2 separate regions of the Homo sapiens genome follow, and region 2 is linked to region 1. The links are contacts of gene promoters, found by promoter capture Hi-C in human tissues and cell types (Jung and others, 2019). All regions are on one chromosome and are shown on one strand. Each heading gives the region's core, a stretch centred on a gene start or on the middle of the fragment in contact. The rest is flanking DNA. Distances are from core to core; before and after follow the strand shown.

Region 1 (3,959 bases), core at 1,100-3,599:
CAGCTGCAAGTATTTCGCTGGAATCTACTATGATCTGTGTCACTTGAGGCACAGAGTGAGCTCATGTCATTCTTTGGATGACATGCACCCCTCCCTAACTTATTCCGACATTTAGTCATCCAAGAATTCACTCAGCTCTGGTGGGGTGGGCTCCAATCTCAATGGCATCTCACCAGTTCCCAGGTCATATTGCCCATTTGCAGTGATGATATTTAGAAAAGGTGATTTCTTTTGTCAGGGTCTGTACCACTATAGAAGTAGTCCTTTGAACCAGAAATTTAAACACATAAGCTACTTTAAAAAGTGTATCTGCTGCTACTCCAAGCAGCCAGCTCAGGAACTGGCTTCTGATTTTAAAAGATGAGTGAAAGGTGTGCCGTGGTTTCCTCTACAGAATGTTCAGACCAGAGGGCCCTGGAAGACCATGCCTGAAATGCGGCTAAGGCACCGCGAGGCTGAACAGAAAACCGGGGCCTTATCAGAGAGAAGAGAAGGGCCCCACAGTCCAAACGCCCAGGAGCCTCCGCCCTGACCTGCTGCCGCACGTGGTTGCTGCAGGGTGAGAATCTGGGGAAGACTCAATGAAGAAAATGTCCTGGCCAGGCCGGGAAGAGCAACACACAGAGAGCCGCAGCAGAGACAGGGATGGGGGGACCCTGCCCTGGGAGCCGCCCGGCTGAGGCTCAGGAGGGGAGCTGCAAAGCCTGAAACCTACACAACCTCTCACACACTTCAGGACACACACAACCCCTCACGCACCTCAGGGACTCACACAACCTCTCACACACCTCAGGAAGCTACACAAACTCTCACACACCTCAGAAACCTACACAAACTCTCACACACCCCAGGGACTCACACAACCTCTCACACACCTCAGGACACACACAACCCCTCACATACCTCAGGAACCTACGCAAACTCTCACACACCTCAGGACACACACACAACCTCTCACACACCTCAGGACAAACACCCACTCACACACCCCAGGACCCAAGCACAACCCCTCACACACCTCAGGACACACACACAACCCCTCACACACCTCAGGAACCCATATAAGGAACCCACACACCTCAGGCTCATACACACAAGCCCTCACACACCTCAGGAATCCACACACAACCCCTCACACACCTCAGGGTCTCACACACAATGTTGACACACCTCAGGGTCTCATACACAAACCCTCACACACCTCAGGACCCACACAATTCATCACACTTCTCAGGACACACATAAAACCCCTCACACACCTCAGGGGCCCATACATAACCCCTCACACACCTCAGGACTCACACACAATCCTCTCACACACCTCAGGACTCACACAACCTCTCACACACCTTAGGACCCACACACAACCACTCACACACCTTAGGACCCACACACAACCTCTCACACACCTTAGGACCCACACACAACCACTCACACACCTTAGGACCCACACACAACCTCTCACACACCTCAGGGACCCACACACAACCACTCACACACCTCAGGACCCACACACACCTCATACACCTCAGGGACACACACAACCCCTCACATACCTCAGAAACCTATATAAACTCTCACACACTTCAGGACAAACATACAACCTCTCACGCACCTCAGGACACACACACACACACTCGCACACCTCAGGACACACACACACACTCTCACAGTTAGAATGACACATGGGGACAAAAGTGCCTTCTGTTTCCTCTTTGTAGTATTCTCTTCATTCATTCATGACGTCGGCATTTACTGCCTATTGCATGCGAATCGCTTGCAGAACTATCCAAGTGACACACGTCCCAAGCAGGCTCAGGTGAGCCCCAGGTGTATGTTGTCCACACGCAGCACCATGGATGAGAAGGACAGCCAGGGTTTAACAGGAATATCGACTCTTGCTTGCTCCTCATTCTCTTCTCTATCACAAAAATCACACGGACAATTCAGATGGAGATGCATTTAGTGAAATGATGAAACTTTGAATCCTGTCTCCTATTTAAACTCACATATATTATTTTCCCTTCATAAAAATGTTTTTTCTAGTAAATAATTTGATATCCGAAGAAAGTTTGTATTTCTCCAAGAATGTATGCTCAGAGAAATGAGCTCTTACTACACGTTGCGTATTGAAGACTGGATATAAAACACATGGTTTTTGTCAATTTGGAGGAGTAGTTTGACTCTCTCCAATGTCCTTTGTGGATGGATGGACTCCACTGACGATGAGCTTCTATATTAAGAATTGCAGGTTTGGGGATGTTTAATTATTATCTGAGCTGGTACAGTGGTGACGCTGAGTGAGACGTTCATGTCCCTTTAAGACAGAAAGTCCGTTGGAACTGTCCGCTGCTCTCTGGTCTCTGGATATGAGGCAGGAGGGCTTGGGGACAACTGTGGGGACATGGCCCAGATGATCTGATCCTGGCAGTAGTGACTGTTGGGGACCAGGTGAGGTGACGAGGTCTGGTGGTGGGGCTGAAGGAAAGGGTCTTCCCTGGACTGAGGGGGTCATGAGTTTGGGGCCGAGGACACTGGGGTGTCCCCTCAGAGGAGCAGGAAAGAAGGAGCTTTCTCAGGGCTGTGAGGACCGTGACCCCAGCCCACTTCCGCAGAAACATTCCCAGTCTCCGCGGGGAAGGAATGGCAGTGATCTGGTTACTGGTAGGTCTTGCTCTAGACCTTCGATTCGCTTCCATCAGGAGACTCTCTTTTAAATAGCATTTCTCCGATCACTGTGGTTAAACTGTTCCTTCTCACACAGTTAGAAGTTTATGAATTAAACAGTCGGGGTTTCGTTGGGGGCCACTGGCTTCCTAAAACGGACAGGGCAAGGCAGGGGTGGAGGCAGCTTTCAGAGACGACCCTGCAGGCTTGCAGGAAAGCTTTGCGTTTTTCTCTTTCGTTTTTGTTCTCTAATTGCTGTGAACTTCCTAGAACTGGCATAAATGCTGTACCTATAAAAAGGTGTTTCCTTTCCACATCTTCACCATGAATTCACAAATGTCACCCTGATGGTTCAAGACACATACTCAACACGGTGGAGGGTCTGCCTGTGCCCCTCCAGGTGGGTGCTGATTAAAGGGCTGAGAATTCCCTCGGTGTCTCATGCGACCCTCCACTCACACCTGCTCACACCCTGAGACCATTCCACTCACACCTGCTCATACCCCAAGACCATCGTGCTCACATCCGCTCACATCCATTCACATTCCGCTCATATCCTGCTCACAACCCACTCACATCCCACTCACACCGGCTCACACCCCACTCACACCCCTCTTTGGATGACTGGAGTGTGTTAGGTGTCAGGCTGATCTTCTAGGATCTAAAGCATTTTCCACGGAGGATGGTGGAGAGCCAGGTGTGGACAGCTCAGTCCCTCTGTCTGTGGTGTCCTTTCACCTGGTCAGCTTCGGGCCTGGGAATGTGCACATGACCCAGGGGGAGAAGGAGCGGCTGCGGGTCCTGCTCACCCTTAGTTTGGGGCTGGGGCCTTCAGCCCACACTGACGGGGTAGGAGGGCTGCATTCAAGTGTCCCCATAGCCCTTCCCTTCCCAACCAGGATGCTGGCAGGTCAACTCGAGGCCAGGGACCCCAAAGAGGGCACCCACCCAGAGGACCCGTGCCCAGGAGCTGGGGCTGTCATGGAGAAGACAGCTGTGGCAGCCGAGGTTCTCACGGAGGACTGCAACACTGGGGAGATGCCAGTGAGTTGAGCTCTGTGGGGACAGAGTTAGTCCCACCAGGCGGGACCCTGATTCCTGTCCCTGAGGCCCGTCATTGGACTTTCCCTTGCTGGACCCCTGTAGGAATGCACCACCCCGGGACACTGATTCTGTACTTCCTCTCCAAGGGGCATGTGGCTCTTTCCCCCTCTGCAACCGTATCTCTTGGTGGATGGGAGGCAGGGCAGGGAGTTAAAGAAAATATTAACATTCCAGCTTTTCTCCTCTAA
Region 2 (3,885 bases), core at 643-3,142, 330 kb after region 1:
GGTTAAAAATACTTTGTATTAAAGATTTTCTTCATAACCAAATACAATGAATTCTTGGGATTGGGGGTGGGGTGGGGTGTGAATGCCACTCTGACACTGGAAACAAGATGCCGGAGTGGGCCTCAGTGCGCGCTGTCTGGGTGCAAGGGAGAAGCCCGGCAGATACACATTAACGCCACCTTCAGACAGGCACATCCCAAGAGGAGACTTGGAGGCAATGGCATTGAAAACCACCTGCTGCTTTCAGTGATCAAGAAAGAAACCTGTGGCTTTCATGAATGCGGAATCCATAAGACACAGTCAGATGCCGTCCTGGAATGGTTGCTTCCTGAAGTAGGAAGGTCCAGAGTAGGCTAGGAAGGTGTCAGGGAGTGGGCTGTCTCCTCACAGGATACTCTTTCTTAGGGGGAAATGATGACCTTGAGCTGAGGTAAGGAGGCCCTTGAGCTTGAAGATGCGAAAGAAAAGTGGCTCCCCAGCCTTCTCAGTGCTTGGGTGTGGGAAAGAATTGTAACCCCTGGGAGGCCAAGGCGAGGCAGAGAATGCCCTCCAGAGGCCTGCGGTCTTGGAGCGAGGAGGCCCTGACAGAGGAGACCTGGCCAACCCTTCCCTCGAGCCCCTGGCCACTCTCAGGGTGGGCATTGCCTGAGGCTTATCAGAAATGCAGACCCTGGCTGGGCACGGTGGCTCCCACCTGAAATCCTGGCACTTTGGGAGGCCGAGGCAGGAGGATCGCTTGAGTCTAGGAGTTCGAGACTGGCCTGGGCGACATAGCAAGACCAGCAAGACTCTACGAAAAAATTAAAAAGTTAGCAGTGGTAGCGTGCACTTGCAGTCCCAGCCACCCTGGAGGCTGAAGTGAGAGGACTGCTTGAGCCTGGGAGGTCGAGGCTGCAGTGAGCTGTTATCTTACCACTGCACTCCGTCCTGGGCAACAGGCCTATCTCTAAGTAAGTAAGTAAGTAAGTAAATAAATAAATAAATAAATAAATAAATAAATAAATAAATAAAATGCAGACCCTCACGCCTCATCCAGGCCCGCTGAACCAAACCTGTGCTGCTGCAACAAGATGCTAGGTGGTCCCCAGGCACGTTCAAGTGTGACACGAGCTGACTTAGGGGACAGTTCTTCCCGGCTTTCTTGAATAAAATGGTTCTTTTATATGTTGGTGCGTTTTGGTGTGATTACTAATTTTGCTGAGTACCGTAGTCATTTTTTCAGTGTCACTGTTTGACATGCTGTAAAGTAGGTTAGTATCACTCTCAGGCTGTGAGTCGGACTTTTTGTTTTGTTTCCCCAATCAGGCCACAAGGGGCCGCATTTCACCATGTAAACATTCATCGTGTCCAGCCTGTTCACAACCACAGTGGGAAACTCAGTAGCTGCAGGAGGCCCTGTCCAACAGGAAGGTTGCCTCATTGCAACCTGACTTTATCCCTTCACTCCTGTAACCAACATTCTTAATTAAAATAAAATAATAGTCAAGGCCCCCCGTCCCCGATGCAGCCCCCATCAGACTGCTAACAGCTTTTTCGGTATTCGTCCCTAAAATTGCTTACATCTACACTTGCACAGGATTTTCCCCAAGGCACTAGCATTCTACACTGGAAGTTAATTATGTTTTCTCTTTCAGTCGTTTTCTGTTTTCATGACTCAGATTTGTTACTAAATCCCCTCCCCCAATGCTTTCTGAGTCCTTAATGCTGTGTTTGCCAGCTCAGTTTGGAGTTGCCGGCTGAGAGGTGGCAGTCTTCCGGAATAAGGACATTTCTGATCACCTTGCTAATGTGTCTGACTCACACGAGACTTGGCAGGAACCCTCTATCTGTATTAATGCTATAGATTCCTTTGGAAAGATTAAGGAACAGTGCTATCTTGTTATGGGTCAAGACATCCAAAGCACATTATTTAGACGACAACATTGTCCAAAGCTTTAAAGTGAACTCAGGCAACTACATTTTATGCCAGACTTCCATTTGCTGAAACAGATTAAAAAAATACTCGTGCATTAAGTGATTATGCAGAGGCAAAGTGGTAGTTCTGTGAGGTTCCAGCACACTGGGAGTCCTGGAGCCTTGGGGTGTGTGTCCTACGGAGCCTCCAACAACTGGAGCAATTTCACATCCCTGGCGTCCATCTCCCAGGCTAGGTTTCCTCATCTGTAGAAAGAAGGGGTTGGATTAGGATGCTCCGTAGGTTTCCTTTTAAAAGTAATCTAAAAAAGCAATCAGAAATGTTTTGTTATTTTAATTAGGTATTGATTTGAAATGGAAACCTCGATTGATAGCTGATAGAGGCTCATCTAAGGCATTTGTAATCTGATGGACATAGACAATATTCTGCCCATTAGAGAACCAAGACCACAAAAGAAGCTTAGAATAGAAGAGCCGCCCACATTTGCTGCTGCTGTGTAATGAACAGTTGTAGGTGGCACCAGGTGCATGTCTTGAAGAAATTCTTGAATCAGCTCATGGAATTCTGAACTGGATTAAAACATGGGCACGTGAACATTTTATTTAACAGCATCTCTGGCTGCCAACATTTCACCAAGAATCTTCATTATTAAAGTGCACTGGTTATTCCTTTTGCCATCATTTGAGTTACTCTCTGTGAAGAAGACAGATGTCTTGCTATAGTCATTTCACTTGCTCAAGTTCCCCTGTCCTCTCTCCTCAATCGCTATGTCCCCCTTAGCGAAGCCATAACCAGTCGAAACTTAAGTGAGTCAGCTTTGGATGTCAGCCATAGAGCAGGCGAGCCAAGTCCCGTGATGCCAGCCCCTGGACAGAGTTTCCAAGGCAACAACTGCTGTGTTTCTCTCCACTCTGAAGGAAAACCTGGGAGAATCCAGTCCTGATGTGGCTGTTAAGGGAGCCAGGGTGGGGGAAAACAATCTGTGAATGAGCAGACTTTCGTTCTAGCCTGTTTTTTTTTCCTCTGTAAGAATGAGTCTTATTCACATGCATTTTTCTGTAGCTCTGAAATGAGGATTTGAATTGAACTGTTTGAGATGGGTGGTTAAAAGAAAATATACACAGATCATCAGTCTGAGAAGCACTAGATGATCATGCAGATTAAGAAGTAATAAAGTCAGAATTCTCACAGGAACAAGAGATCATTTTTGTCACTGAGTACAAGAAAGATTAGCATGAGCCAAGACACAGAGGCCGAAAAAGGGGCAAGGGACAGTCCCCACTGAGAACAGCTTCCATCTTCAATGTTTTTCTCATCATTAGTAGGACTATAAAAATTATTGTCCAAATCAGGGCACATTCGCGAAACAGGGAATGTCTAATAATTAAGTCGGGATGACAGATGTCAATTGTCCCGGGAAAACCAGCACACGTGTCACCGTACTTTTTATGCCTCCCGGTAGAGAGCCATTGAACAAAGGTGGCCTTAGCTACCGGAGTGTGACAGCCACGAGGCTCAAGTGAGAGAGGAGGATGCCAAGTCATCCGATGAAACTGAGTCGGGTGGGAATGGAATAGAGAAATGAAAGAAATGTGGACAGGTTTGAACAGCAGCTCAGGGAAATTTGATGATAGATCAAGCAGAAATAGATTAAAAAGACTTCGAGGCAGTGGTACTCTCTGAGGGAGCACAATTTGGGGTGGCCCAGTCAATGGTTTTGTGATTTTGTCCAGTAAAGAGTAGAGTAATTCTCTTTAGGTTTGAGCAGCAATACACGAGGTTTCTGGGGAGAACAATCCCAACATAGTAGACATCAAAAAAATGTTTAATAATGAATCTTCTGTTTCCTGAAGAAATTCGCTAAAAGTAGACATCAGTAAGCTTGTGAAACACATTTATGGTTATCCTCAAAGAAGTCAACTGAGTTTACCATCCATAGCCAGTTAGGGATGAGATAAAATAGATGGAAA

What was found. Contacts are between HindIII fragments. The study calls those that stand out against the background at their distance.
Region 2: a fragment that was not itself captured here is called in contact with the fragment with the promoter of TCP10L in region 1 in 2 of the 25 tissues and cell types used here (H1 embryonic stem cells and spleen).

Annotation. Positions count from the first base shown.
Region 1 is chr21:32,583,913-32,587,871 of GRCh38, reverse strand. TCP10L (t-complex 10 like) reads left to right here and starts at 2,349. Exons shown (of 5, transcript NM_144659.7): 1 at 2,349-2,451; 2 at 3,567-3,711. The coding sequence starts at 3,568. All of the region lies in intron 5 of CFAP298-TCP10L (CFAP298-TCP10L readthrough), which reads left to right. RefSeq lists a silencer at 2,311-2,510 and an enhancer at 3,592-3,959. The HindIII fragment of the contact is 17,408 bases long and covers 1-3,959 here.
Region 2 is chr21:32,255,961-32,259,845 of GRCh38, reverse strand. It overlaps a transcript of MIS18A not described here. Among named protein-coding and RNA genes, the nearest start is that of MIS18A, 21 kb to the left of the region's middle. The HindIII fragment of the contact is 6,088 bases long and covers 1-3,885 here.